5 separate regions of the Homo sapiens genome follow, and all the other regions are linked to region 4. The links are contacts of gene promoters, found by promoter capture Hi-C in human tissues and cell types (Jung and others, 2019). All regions are on one chromosome and are shown on one strand. Each heading gives the region's core, a stretch centred on a gene start or on the middle of the fragment in contact. The rest is flanking DNA. Distances are from core to core; before and after follow the strand shown.

Region 1 (2,700 bases), core at 169-2,668, 570 kb before region 4:
TGCTGGGATTATAGGTGTGAGCCACACCTGTATTATTTACAATGGTTCTCCTACATGCCAGGCTTTGTTTGGTATGTGGAAATAAAAACTGTGATGAATAAATAATAAACCACCTTCAAATAACATTAGGATTAGAGCTGGGTGTGGTGGCTCATGCCTGTAATCCCAGCACTGTGGGAGGCTGTGGGAGGCTGAGGTGGGCCGATCACGAGGTCAGGAGATAGAGACCACCCTGGCCAACATGGTGAAACCCTGTCTCTACTAAAAATACAAAAAATTAGCTGGGTGTGGTGGCGGGCGCCTGTAGACCCAGCTACTTGAGAGGCTGAGGCTGAAGAATCGTTTGAACCCACGAGGTGGAGGGAGACTCTGTCTCAAAAAAAAAAAAAAAAAAAAAATTAGGATGAGAGTGATCTGCTGTGAATCCTGGGGAATGAAAAATCAATTTAGTGTTGGTTTTGAATACTGGCACTATTTTATATTAAGCAAAGAAAGACTAAATTTATTTTAATAAACATTCAGAGGCTGAGGGTGGCCAAATTTTCAAGCCAGACCCTCCCAATGTTAATACACTGTGCAAAGCTTACACCATGAACAACTGACCCGGACCACTACCATTCCAATGGGAGCCTCTGCCTTACAATACCAGGTTAGATGTCTGTGCCCAGAACCCCTAAATTAGTTACAACTAATAATCTTCTTTCAAGAGTTTTTTTTTTCAATCTTGGAGTTAACAATCTGACTTATTTTTCTTTTATCAAAGAAGTAGGAAAATTACAATAAGAATTCTAGAGATCTCTATAAATTACAGACCTATGACTCAAAATCCTTGAAACAATTTCTCTACGAACATAAGAGTTAAAAATAGATTTCAGTAAAACCCTATATGCGTCTTATGTGTACACAGTATAGCTATGAGGAACAGATCTTATTTTGAGGAACTTTATTGTTACATTTTTGCAATAATTGAGGCACAACTACCTCCTGCTTTTCCAACATCTTAATAAAAAAGACAATAAGGATTAACAGTGAAATTAAAATTAAAAAATACAAAAGCCTAAGGTTCTGGAGACAAAACTGACTAGAGTCTATGTGTAGCCAAGTTGTGAATGACAGTTTAGCCTTGCAGAGTTTCCTTCTTCTCCAATTACAATGTGTTACAGAATTTGGAAGGGGGTGTCTTTAAAAACGTTCTAATTCACCCCGGTCATGAGGAGGAGGAGGAGGAAGTCCAGCTCAGCAAGGCCAAGTGCCTCGGCCAGGGCGGTGGGGTCAGCGCTGAGCGGGTCAAGAGCCCGCGCCGGGGGCCATCCCCCTGCGCTTTCTATCGAGTTAAACGGACCCCACAATATCTCCTTCCTCTCATGCTTCTGGTTTGAAAGTGACGAGTAAATATGTCAGACTGTTTAAAGGAAAACAAGCACTCATTGACAAGGCCGGACTACTCAGGAAGGTGTTTCAAACAACTCCCCTGCTACGCGAATCACAGCGCTGCTGTCGCCAACAGCGCCGCGAAGAGGCTCTCCCCGTTGGCGGAGGACCCGCTTGCACTTCCTCTGGGCTCTGGATTCTAACACACACAGGAGACACAGCGAAAGCTGACCCAGAAGGCAAACAAAGCTCACCACGCTCCGGACCGGGCTGCGCGTCACTGTTGCAGACTGCAAATGGGACCTGAGACCACCCCGAGGGCCCCACCAGGAGCTCTCTTTCTCCTTTAAAACGTGGTCATCGGCACTCATCTCCGGTCACATCCGTGAGGTCTGTGAAGAGCCACAGAAGCAGTACAAAAACAGCGACTTCTTTATCCAGCCAAAAAAGGAGCCACAAGCCCAGCAAACACTGACACACAGCCTCGAGCACTGCGAGAGAGAGTTCCATGCTGTCTCCCGATGAGAACGCTGTGCTAACAGGGTGACCCAGAGGCAGGTTTCCCCTCCCTCTTCTGCTTCTGCATCTGCCCCAAGGGCTTGCGTTTACCGGGTTTGCGGAAAACAAGCCAAGGGTGAGCTGCAGAGGGGCTCGGGGCTCGGGGCAGCACGGCCTCGGGACGAGGGCCCTGGGATATGTGACTGAGCCACAGCAACATTCGGGTGCCAATTAAGAGGACGCTTTTCATTTTCTTGTAAATGCTAGGACACATCCCAAAACACACTAGGCAGGATTTCTCAGTAGAGTGATACACAGAGGGGACCAGCTTGGAATGCAATGTATTTTAAACACAGTGAAAGCCACCTGGCAGGTAGCTGGACAAGTGAGCTGGGCCCAGGACTGGCCAGCTCGTATCAACATTCACAGGCTCCCGCGGGCTCCCCCAGGACAGCGGCATCCGAGAGTGTTTACTCTTCTGCAAGCACAGTCATAGAAGCGAGGGGCCTCGATGAGAATCAGACTTAGGGAGAGCGGCGAACAGGCACGGCTGTCCAAAGGCACTGGTGGAGCGGCAGTTTGGAGAAACTCAAGATTCCTCCAGCGTCTGTGGGCTTCCCGAAAGGTCAGCTGTTAGCTCGCCAAGCAGCTGGGGCATTAACAAAAGCTCTGCTAGTGGCCTTGCCAGCTTTCTGAAGCCCCAGAAGAGGAATGTTTCTGAAAGAAGGAAACGCTATGTGCTGCCAACTGTGTGTGAGCAGATGACTTGCAGGAAGATGGGAGAGCCGTCTGCAAGGGGACCTGGTTTCTGTGTCTTTGCCGTTGGGTTGG
Region 2 (2,700 bases), core at 123-2,622, 880 kb after region 4:
GAGCCCATGGTATTGCAGTCAAAACAGAGTTTAATTAGAGCCCAGCCACATGGGGGAACTGGAGTTATCACTGGTCAGTCTCCCTGAGGGCTCAGAGGTTAGTTTTTTCCAGGATAGTTTGGTGGGCGTGGGGGCTAGGGAGTGGGTGCTGCTGATTGGCTGGGGATGCCATCACGGGGCGTGGAAAACGGTCCTCATGTGCTGAGTCCACCTCTGAGCGGGGCCACAGGACCCCCTAAGCCGTGAGTCGTGAGTCATGAGTCCAGATGGGGTCAGTCCATTTTCAGAATGCAAAAGTCTGAAAAGCATCTCAAAAGATCAATTGTAGTTTCTATAATAGTGATGTTATCTTTAGAAGCAACTGGGAAAGTCACTAATTTTGTGACCTCTGGTCACATGCCTCCTGAGCAGTGAGGGATTACTTACCCAGCTTACAGGCTGGGTGCGGTGGTTCATGCCTGTCATCCCAGCACTTTGGGAGGCTGAGGTGGGTGGATCGCGAAGTCAGGAGTTCAAGACCAGCCTGGCCAACATGGTGAAACCCCATCTCTACTAAAAATACAAAAAATTAGCTGGGCATGGTGGTGCATGCCTGTAACCCCAGCTACTCGGGAGGCGGAGGCAGGAGAATCGCTTGAACCGGAACCCGGGAGGCAGAGGTTGCAGTAAGCCAAAATCGCACCACTGCACTCCAGCCTGGGCTACAGAGCAAGACTCCGTCTCAAAAAAAAAAAAAAAAAAAGAAAGTATGCTTATATTTTAGCCGAGTTCAGGCTTCTCCCATACTCCTAATCTCTCAGCCTTTTATTAGCTTTACAAAGGCAGTTTCCACCCCCAAACGAGGAGGGGGATTGGCTTTAGGGAAGGACCATTATCAGCCTTGCTCTAAGTTAAACTAAAAAGTAAATTCCTAGACACGGCCCCTGCATCCAGGTCTCTGCTCCACCCCACCCATCAGATGTGGCTTGGCTCTTGCACACCCAAAACAACTCACACATCTCCTGTGCCAGGCCTGGCAGTGCCAACCCTGCAAGTGGACATCTCAGTTGTTTGGCCTCAGCACACTCCTCCGGGTTCTGTGTTTACACTGCAGAGAGTTTTCTGGAAGGAGAAAGCCAGTTCGCCATTCCCTTTCTAGCCTCTGCTTCTCGCAGCCCAAGTACCTGCATTGTAACAACCCTAATCTGCTGAGGAGAGGCACTGCTAACGTATTGACTTAGAGCAAGTAGGCCTTCAGAAGAGGAAATTAAATTGGGCCAGCTTCCGTCCCCTCGGCTGGAAGCTTCAGAGCACCACAAACTCGTGGGCCCGAAATGCTCAAAGGCTTTTATGAAAACTAAGACTTTGCTGTGGTCCCATAGGTAAGCGTGCAGGTCCAAGCGTCGGCTCTACTGTTTACTGCCTGTGTGACCACGGGCAAGTCACTTAACCCCTCTGAGTCTGGCCTTGAGACCTTGTGCTGCTGTGGGGAGACCTGTGAGTGAGGAGACTCAGGTACTGGCTTCATTGCTGCCACTAAGGCACCAGTCCTGCTCATAAGATGAGTGTCCAGAATGTACCTGGCCCGGGGTCAGCCCCCAGTCAGTATTTGGTGAATGAGGGGGACCCTGGGTGAGTGAGTCGGTTTGTCTGGCCTCATCTGTAAAATGATGAAATGTTCAGAATAGATGATCTCTGGGTCCCCTGAAGTTCAAATACGTGATACTTAAATCTGTTTAAACTCAGAGAGGAAGGATAATTTTTAGATTTTTAGCTGAGATTGATGCACAAGCCCAGGCACTACAAATTGGTAAAAATAATCCATCGGTAAGGACTCCAGTGTGCAGGAGGTAGGACCCAACGCCAACAAGCTTAAGCTGAAAGAATCATTATTAACTCCTGCACTGGAAGAGTTGCAGAGCCTGGGACAGCTTCAGGCATGGCTGGATCCAGCGCCCCAGCAAGCTGCTCCATGTGGCCTCTTGGATCCACTTTCCTCCTAGTTGGCTCCTTCCTTGGTCAGGCTCTTCATCAAGGTGGCCATACAGCCCTGGGCACAGAGAGCTTCCCTTTTCTGCAGTGGAAGTCCACTGGCTGTCTTCAGCCTGCCTTTAGTTGCATATCTGTCCCCAAACTAGTTGCTGCAGCCAACGTCCTGAGGTGCCCAAAGCCAGGGAGATGTCATCTCTACCTGGACCACCTGGGCCAACTGTGAAGCGAGAGGGTCCCTAGAGGAGATCCAGTGCGACAGTCAGAAGAAGGGGACTCGGGCATTCACCACCACAGCTGTCCTGCAGTGCTGATAGGCAGAGTTTGACTAGGTGGCCAGAAATTTTTCTGGTGGAGGTATGGACAGTGTCTATGGGTTCCTCAGCAGGAGAGCTCTTCAGATGACCCAGCCAGAGTTCTGGGCCCAGCTCCACATTCCACAGCGTTCCGGGCACTGTGGGACCACGCTCCAGCCTTCAAGACACTCACTATTCATGGATGGGCCCTGGTCTCAGGTTAAGCCTGCACTCCTGCCCAGACCCCAAGCAGGCATCTCAGCCCCTGCCTGTATTTCCAGAGCCCCCAGGCTTCCCCCTCCTTGAGTATGTGCCCCCTCATCCATACCAAGCTGTTTCCGCCTGGGATGACTGCTCCCTACTCCCGTCCCTGGGAGGACAGACAGTCCTCCCTCCCATGCAGCCCTGCATCCACGCGAGCCCTTGGATGGGGCAG
Region 3 (2,700 bases), core at 95-2,594, 710 kb after region 4:
CAACCTCCGCCTCCCGGGTTTCAGCAATTCTCTGTCTCAGCCTCCTGAGTAGCTGCGATTACAGGCACCTGCCACCACGCCCGGCTAATTTTTTTGTATTTTTAGTAGAGGCGGGGTTTCACCGTCTTGGCCAGGCTGGTCTTGAACTCCTGACCTCGTGATCCACCTGCCTCAGCCTCCAAAAGTGCAGGGATTACAGGCATTGTTTTAATCTTTAATGGTAGTGAAACACACATAAAAAATCCATCATGTTCACCATTTGTAAGTGCACGGCTCAGTGGCATTAAACACATTCACACTGTTCTGCCACCGTCACCACCATCCTTCTCTAGAGCTCTTTTCATGTTGCAAAACTTCTGCACCACTAAACAGTCGCTCCCCGTTGCCCTTTCCCCTGCTCCTCCTACTTTCTGTCTCTGTGAATTTGTTCTAGATGTCTCATGCAAGTGGAATCATACAGTATTTGTCTTTTTGTGACTTATTTCATGTAGTATACTGTCCTCAAGGTTCATCCATGTTCCGCCATGTGTCCTAATTTCCTTCCTTTAAGAAGCTGAATAGTAGACATTGTATGGACAGATCGTATTTGTTTACCCATTCATCCATCGGTGGGCAGTTGGGTTTGTTAGGAATAACGCTCAAAATCCTAAGGAAAGTGAACACACGAACAAAAGATTCTTAGCAAAGCAATTTTACTTCTGCGCAGAGGGGTGCCTCCTTGGCCAGTCGCCATGACAGCACACCTGAACAAAGGGGCACGAGAGCCTTTATTCCTGACGCAAGTCCTGCCCCTGTACCCTTTCCCCATTGGCCGGGGTCGGGTCATACAATCTAAACTAATCCCGGTTGGCTGAACCTTTGATTTTTTTTAGATAAGGTGGGCACGTAAAAGAAAGCGAAGAGGAAAGGGGAAGGGGTGTTCTGTAATGAACTAGAAAGTTAGTCCTCTTTCCAAATAAAGGAAGGAATGTGAGCTGCTACTGATAATGCCTGGTACTGTGGCATGCCTGGGCATCTAACAAAGGCAAAAAGGAAAAAAAGGGAAAGGGCAGCAGGGGGAAGGGTACTATAAATTAAAGAATAAAAGATTGATTGGGTTCTTTGAAGAGAAACCTCATCATATCCCTCAGGTTGCTTCTACCTTTTGGCTACTGTGAATAAAGCTGCTTTGAACCCAGGTATGCACATATCTCTTCGAACCCCTCCTTTCTGTTCCTTTGAGTGTATACTGAGAAGCAGAATTGCTGGATTCTATGGTAATTCTGTCTTAATTTTTTGAAGAGCCACCATACTGTTGTCTGTAGCGGCTATACCATTTTATATTCAGAACAACCGCGAAATGGGGCGGAATTTCTTCACATCCTTCCCAACACCTGTTATTTTCTGTTTGTGTGTATGTGTTTTCTTTTCATAATAGCCACCCTAGTGGGTATTAGATGCAATATCATTGTGGTTCTGTTTTGTCCACTGTTTTCACGGAAGTTCAAACAAAACTGAACACCCTTAAGTGGGAGAGCTCGTAGTCAGCTGTGGTCTCCATGCTTCTTTCTTCTACATACCAGTTCTCTTCAGAATGAGAACGGTATTTCCATGGAAGCTGGACTTGGCACGAAGGGGCCCTGCCTTCTACCAACCGAGTCTGGTTGCCCTGATACTGGGAATGGCCTTTCGTCTTCTGCATTGACAAATGGCTGTTTTCTGTAAGGGAGACTGCTTAGCAAACCAGATCACCATGAGCTGCATGATACAAGTGGAAGGGTTTTAGGCTCCCAGAGTAAAAAGGGAAGTTGCTGTGAGTTCTTCTGTAGGTAACTGGGAATGCGCACATTTTGTTTTTAAAGGAGACACACAGAGAGGGGGATCCTCATCAGCTGCCCATTATCCATGTCACTGGAAATCAAAAGCCAAGAACGCTGAAATGCCCAGCTGGTGGCGAAGACTGCGTTCCCAGAAAGCCATTTTTGGAAGCAGCTTGATTTGAAATAATTAAAAAGATCCCATCTTCATCGCCAACTGGCTTCATGCTTCAGAGCAGCTTAACTTTGTGTTAAGGAATCCAGTGAGCAGATTCTGAATTAGTGATAGACACCTCTGTGTGAGGCAACAGAAGTTTCCTTTGAGAGTCTCATTTTCATTTTGGAGCAATTTATGGCCACTGCTTGGTGATTGGTAAGGAGCTGGAGTGCATTTCCAATGAGCTCGCAGGCGCAGACTTACGAATCCCCGCGGTTGGGGCTGCAGGTTTTTGGAGAAGCGGCTGGGATTTTATGTGTGGATGCTGACACGCAGCTGGTACTGTCTGCAGGCTCTGCCTAGCCCAACACTATGGTGGAAAGCATGTGCCACCTCTTTCTGACCATCTCTAATGTGGGTGAAAGGGACCTTAGCGCCACTTCAGGTCAGCGAGACAGCTCGATTTCCAGAAGAATTTCCCCCACCCAGGTTTTACTTCGCTAGTAACTTGAAAATTCAGTTCAGGCATCATCACAATTCAGAATGGGAACCGACAGCGGATGCTGGAAGTCACTGCCAAGACTTTGTTCATTCCAGGGCATCAGTCTACAAAATGACTGGGCTGAAAAGCCTGTTTAAACTCTGCAAAAAATCCACGCAAGGGTGTAGGATCTCCAGCAGAACCTTCGGAAGCCTTGCCGGCAAGAGTGCATTTGGCTGGCAGAGTCCCTCTTGCACACCTGCTGG
Region 4 (2,700 bases), core at 73-2,572:
GGCTCCTTTAACTTTTTTGCCCCTCCTAGCATGGTGTGGAAAGGGGGCAGATGGGAGGCCTCTTTCTGAAACCACCTCCTGTTCGGCGGCTGTACTTGGACCTCAGTTTCCCTGTTTTGTTCACGTGGTCATTGTTAAGTCTTAGGGGACGTGTACAGAGGCTAATATTGAGCCACCAATCAGTTATTTGACAAATACCATAGGCGCTCTGTGAGCAGGAGCTGGCTCCTATCCCAGACCCCAGCCCTGTGACCTGCTCTCCACTCGCCCGGGGTCTTTCTTGGCTGGGACAATAAACCTACTGCATCAGGTGATTCCTGGGGAGTCAGCCCCGTGCTGGGCTCACACCCAGCCCCTCTGCGTTCATCTCTTACATGATCTCATGCGACCATCATCACACGTCCCCAGGCTCCTCCCGGGCCAACTCCAGAGGCAGTGCGTGTCACCTCCAGCTCTCCTCCCACAAAAATGCTGGCCTTTCAGCCTCCAGTGCGCTTAGTTCACCCCATAAACTCTGCTAATGCTTACCACATGCTGAGCGTCGGCGCCCGTCCCCACCCCCAGCCCCACAGGCTCCCGGGTCCCGCCCTGGGAGACCCTCCCACTGGCCGACCCTGCCCCAAGACTCGCCCACTCCACGGTGGGAAACCTGCAATGTGTCCCTCCCTACCCCGCCCTCCTCCAGCGCCGGCCAAAAGTGACCTTGGACGCTTCTACAATGCCATATCCACTCCTCTGAACAGGAGGCGAGTTTGCACCCAGTGGTGCCTTTGGTTGCTAGAAATTAAAAACCCGATTGCGCGTGTTTGCAATTACGGTAACTTGGCGCGTCACCCCCAAGCACTGAGCTAGCTGGTGGTAGCCGGGCGCCTCTCGGGGCGCGCCCTATTCCGCCCTCGGCCCTGGGCTGCCGCACGATCTGCGCGTCCTGCTGCACCTGAGCCCTTCCCACTCGGGCGCCCGCACCGCTGCGGGGCCGGGCGAGGATGCACCACCCCCGCCCGCGAGCCCGCCACGGGAGCGCGTGCCGAATCGACGCCGCCTGCAGTCCCCACTACGGGTCCCTAGGGGGCGCAGCCGGCGCGGGAAGCCGCCCGAGCCAGGCGCCGCGGCCGGCACAAAATTGCAGGCGGGCGGGCGCCGCGACTTTGAAAACAAGCGAGGGCCTGGGGGGCGGGCCCTGGGAGCGGGCGCCGCCTCCCTCGGCCAATCAACGGCGGGCGGCGGGCGGCGGGCGCGGGCGGCGCGTGCGGCCGGGCTGTGAATGGGGAGCGGCGGCCGCGGCAGCTGAGGGCGAGCGCGACCGCGACGTGCGGGCGGGCGCACTTTCTTCTCAGCGCCGGGCGGGGGCGGCGGCGGCGGCGGCTCCTCCGCGCCCGGCGGACCCCTCGGAGCTAGCGCGGCGGGCTCGGGACTGCGTGAGCGCCGGACGCGAATTTCCCCCGTTGACAACTTCTTCTCGCCCGGCTCGTCCCCGGCCCGCGCCGCGCCCCTCACGCGGGGACCCAGGACGCCGCCCCTCAGCGCTGGGCGGCCGCTCACCTCGGGCCGGGGGGCGCCGCGCCTCCCGCGGAGTGGCCGCGCCCGCTCGGAGCCGTCCCGCCTGTCCTGCCCGCCCGTCCGTCCGGCGCGGCGCTCGGGGTGGCGGCTGCTCGGCATGGCCCGGGGCGCCCGGCCCTCGGCGGCCGGTGGCGGCGGCGGCGGCGCGGAGCCCCCTGAGCGCGCGGGCCCCGGGCGGCCGCGGGGATCCCCGCCCGGCCGCGCCCGCCCCTCGCTGGCGCCGCGCCCCGGCCCGGAGCCCTCGCGACCCCGGGCGGCGCCCGAGACCTCCGGCGGGGACACGGCGGGCGCGGGGCGGTGCGGCGGGCGGCGGGCGGCAAAGTTGGGGCCGGGCCGCCGCGGCTGGTGGGCGCTGCTGGCGCTGCAGCTGCACTTGCTCCGGGCGCTGGCGCAAGGTAGGTGCGCGCGGGGTCGCGGGCCGGGGGCGTCGCCTCGGGGCGCGGAGGCGCGAACTTGAGCAGCGAGAGTGTGTCCGGGGTCCCCCCGCTTCCCGGCCCGGGTCGGGATGCGCCTTGCTGGGGGCTCTAGGGAGCCCAGGGGCTCCTCCACGCCAGACTCGGAGGAGAGGGAAACGGAGCCCCGTAGAGCCTGCACCCCGTCTGCTACTTTGCGTTTTATTTTTTTTATACCGCAGTAGCACAAACAAAAATTTTTAAGTTGAGGACCCATTTCTCAGCTCCTTAAAAGGATGCCCGAGTCCCCTTCCCATTGCATGGATGAAAAAGGGGCTGGTCTGTACCTGAGTCTTCGCACCGCAGGGTCTGGTTTCCGGTGAGTGACATCCAGAAGACTTGGAAATATCAAGTGCCAGTCGCTGTGAAAAGCCTTTTCCAGCCCCTCCCCAGGGCCTCGTCCTCTCCCCAGCCCCCGCCTGCTCCTGACTCCCCCAAGTCCCAAAGCCCGACCCCAAGTGGGTGCTGCGCGGCCGGTGGAGCAAAACTTTCAGTGCCCACAGCTTTTGCACTTGGCTTTGTTTTTCTCCCTCTATTGGCTTCTGTTTAGAATACAGTGGTGAGCTCTGAAATAGGGAAAGAGGATCTGCTGAATGGAAATGACCTTTTGAAACGAGAGATGGGATCTCTTGTGAAACGAGCTTTCCTTCCCAAATCTGGGCTTCCCTCCACCCCCTCCCCGCCCCCG
Region 5 (2,700 bases), core at 193-2,692, 650 kb after region 4:
CAGCCTTCTAGCGACAGTGGTCTTGTTTGGCCGGGTGGGCCATGAATACGAGATATGGGTAGATAAGGAAATGGACACACTGATGTCTTCCAGAGTCCCCCACTGCAACAGGGCGGTGCTTTCAATGCAGCTCTGGGTGGTAGTGGGGGGCTCCTCTGAGATCCTCTCTAGGGAAGAGAGAGGAGTTGAGGCAGAGGAAAAAGTTCATTGCTCTTCTCCTCTTAGTCAGCCAAGGTGTTCTCTGCCTACTTAGCGGTCGCTCCAGAATCAAGCTCGGATGATCCCGCCTTCCATGTCGTTGTGTCCCCTCACAGTATTTATTTTAAACATTCATTTCCTGAGCAAATGGGATCATTAGCACTTATGGTCCATTGCTGCGGCAATTAGATATCCTTGCTTAATAGCCCTTGAGCAGAATGCATCGTCAATGCGTGCTGGGAGGGAGTAGAGTTACATCTAGATTGAGTTTTCAGTGTCCGTTGTTCAACCCACCATGCACCCTGGTAGCATTAGCTTCGTCAAGCCTGTGCCGAGTGCCTGAGATGATGACCGTTGCCACCTCCCTGAGTCACAATCGTCGTCATGAATGCCTTTCATTCCCACAGGCCTGTGGAGGACCTGAGTGTGACCTGGAAGAGGAATGGAGTGAGAATCACCAGTGGCCTCCACAGCTTTGGAAGACGCCTCACCATCAGCAACCCGACGTCCGCGGACACCGGGCCATACGTCTGCGAGGCGGCGCTGCCGGGGAGCGCTTTTGAACCGGCCAGGGCGACGGCCTTTCTTTTCATCATAGGTAATGCGGGAGCCTCTAAGTGGTGTTGCCAGCATCTCAGATAGCATCCGACACTGACTCTTCTGCAGAAACAAAATAGCGTATTTCAGTGGCTTTATTTGTAACTCGGCAAATGAAGGTGAGGTTGAGTTTACCTTCGAAATCCTTCCTAGCCTTCTTTCCCAAGAATATAAGTCCATTAAATCCAAAGTGTTGATGTTCTCAATCCTTCCAAGAAACGTCCTTCTGAATACTCCAGTCACAAAGCTCGGGAAATAGAGCGGTGAAACCCCTGTCATATAGATCCCTCTCCTATTCTAGCTTTAGGCTGCTAAGCTTTTCTGTAACTCTTATTTGGCTATCGTGATCGGTGTTCAGAAACTATTCTATTATTGCTGTCCAGGCATGGTGGCTTATGCCTGTAATCCCAGCACTTTGGGAGGCCAAGGTGGGCGGATCACTTGAGGCCAGGAGTTCGAGACCAGCCTGGCCAACATGGTGAAATCCCGCCCGTCTCTACTAAAAATACAAACATCAGCTGGGCGCAGTGGCGGGCGCCTATGATCCCAGCCACTCGGGAGGCGGAGGCACGAGAATCACTTGAACCCAGGAGGCAGAGGTTGCAGTGAGCCAAGATCGCATCATTGCAACCCAATCTGGGCCACAGGAGCAAAACTCCAACTCAAAAAAAAAATTATTAATTTAGAAATTATTCTATTAATTATTAATTTAGCTGTTATTTTTTGACCTAGCAGAAAATGTAAAACTATCGGATGTTACCTTTTGTTAAACTTAAAAAAAAAAAGAGAACAGAGATGCTTCCTCAAACTGGGCGACATATTATTCCTGAACCAAGGAGAAAGAACATAAAATTAAGTACACTGGAGTTGCCCAGCTCTAAATGCTGGAAACTATTAGTGTTTAGGGAGTGTGCATTGTACAGTGGCTAAGAAAATACAAAACCTATTATCAGTTTATGAGGAGGTTAAGTTGTGAGGCAAGTGACTTTATTTCTCTCATTTTTCCAGCTACTGTCATGCATTTATTCTTCATAAGTGGCCGTGATGACTATGAGAGCAGCCTGTGTTCCGCAGTGGTAGCCGCTGTTGATAAGAGGTAGCCTTAGAGGCCGCCTCTAGGAAGGAGAATCTCGACTTCCTCTCTCCTCTTTGGGAAAAAGGGGAATTGAGAACAGGAAAATTCAAATAAGAAAACCCTCAGAGAGCCCCTTAAATAAAAAAATTTGCAGTCTGCCACTTTGCAAAATAAGGAAAAAAAAAAAAAAGCTTGTGTTTTCCTATGAAACTAGCAAGAAAAGGAATACTGCACAAAAGGTGGTTTACCTTGATCACGTCCCATTCCTTTAATCATTAGGAAATGACTCCATGTCCTGACCTTGACTCTTCTAAATACAATGCAGTGCAAACCTGTCGGTCCCTCTGAAAGAAGCGAAAGTCTGTTAAAAGCATCCAAGGAAGCCGGCTTTGAGTCACCAATCACTGTTGATTCTACATGAGAGGCCTGAGCTGGTATTGCTACCTTCCCCATCCATGCTTCCGCTACAGATGTAAATATCACATCCCATTCTCTGCAAAGATTTTTTCATCGAGGTTGATCTGTAGTTCTAGGAGCACAGCACATTATAGATTCAGCCAAAATTAAAATTTGCGACGTGTAAATCTCTAGTAGACAGGACTATACCGTGTTCAAACATTTTAAGGTAATTTAAACAAGAGAAGAAATTTATCTCCCTTTAAACGAGAATGTTTGTTTCGATCATCATTCCTTTTTAAAATATTTAAATCTATCTTAAGAGCTTTAGTTTTACATTTATATCTGATTAGTTTTGTGTTCTCTCGAGTTAGCACCTCTCCGTGTTCTGACTTTTAAAGGTACACAAACACACTTCACTTCTTTATGATGTT

Evidence for each region. The method cuts DNA at HindIII sites, captures the fragments that hold promoters and counts their contacts. A contact is called where the count stands out against the background at its distance.
Region 1: a contact is called between a fragment that was not itself captured here and the fragment with the promoter of SDK1 in region 4, in 1 of the 25 tissues and cell types used here (dorsolateral prefrontal cortex).
Region 2: a contact is called between a fragment that was not itself captured here and the fragment with the promoter of SDK1 in region 4, in 1 of the 25 tissues and cell types used here (dorsolateral prefrontal cortex).
Region 3: a fragment that was not itself captured here is called in contact with the fragment with the promoter of SDK1 in region 4 in 5 of the 25 tissues and cell types used here (dorsolateral prefrontal cortex, heart right ventricle, hippocampus and 2 more).
Region 5: a fragment that was not itself captured here is called in contact with the fragment with the promoter of SDK1 in region 4 in 1 of the 25 tissues and cell types used here (dorsolateral prefrontal cortex).

Annotation. Positions count from the first base shown.
Region 1 is chr7:2,727,631-2,730,330 of GRCh38, forward strand. It overlaps GNA12 (G protein subunit alpha 12), which reads right to left. Exons shown (of 4, transcript NM_007353.3): 4 at 475-2,700. It also overlaps a transcript of AMZ1 not described here. Among named protein-coding and RNA genes, the nearest start is that of AMZ1, 41 kb to the left of the region's middle. The HindIII fragment of the contact is 4,731 bases long and covers 1-2,700 here.
Region 2 is chr7:4,182,918-4,185,617 of GRCh38, forward strand. All of the region lies in intron 35 of SDK1 (sidekick cell adhesion molecule 1), which reads left to right. Among named protein-coding and RNA genes, the nearest start is that of FOXK1, 500 kb to the right of the region's middle. The HindIII fragment of the contact is 3,667 bases long and covers 1-2,700 here.
Region 3 is chr7:4,007,683-4,010,382 of GRCh38, forward strand. All of the region lies in intron 14 of SDK1 (sidekick cell adhesion molecule 1), which reads left to right. Among named protein-coding and RNA genes, the nearest start is that of SDK1-AS1, 660 kb to the left of the region's middle. The HindIII fragment of the contact is 5,333 bases long and covers 1-2,700 here.
Region 4 is chr7:3,299,930-3,302,629 of GRCh38, forward strand. It overlaps SDK1 (sidekick cell adhesion molecule 1), which reads left to right and starts at 1,323. Exons shown (of 45, transcript NM_152744.4): 1 at 1,323-1,955. The coding sequence starts at 1,658. It overlaps SDK1-AS1 (SDK1 antisense RNA 1), which reads right to left. Exons shown (of 3, transcript XR_001744897.3): 1 at 2,300-2,700. RefSeq lists enhancers at 1-402, 403-914, 1,624-2,124 and a silencer at 800-1,349. The HindIII fragment of the contact is 11,292 bases long and covers 1-2,700 here.
Region 5 is chr7:3,951,125-3,953,824 of GRCh38, forward strand. It overlaps SDK1 (sidekick cell adhesion molecule 1), which reads left to right. Exons shown (of 45, transcript NM_152744.4): 7 at 606-796. It overlaps LOC124901576 (a long non-coding RNA gene), which reads left to right and starts at 811. Exons shown (of 2, transcript XR_007060195.1): 1 at 811-914. The HindIII fragment of the contact is 3,750 bases long and covers 1-2,700 here.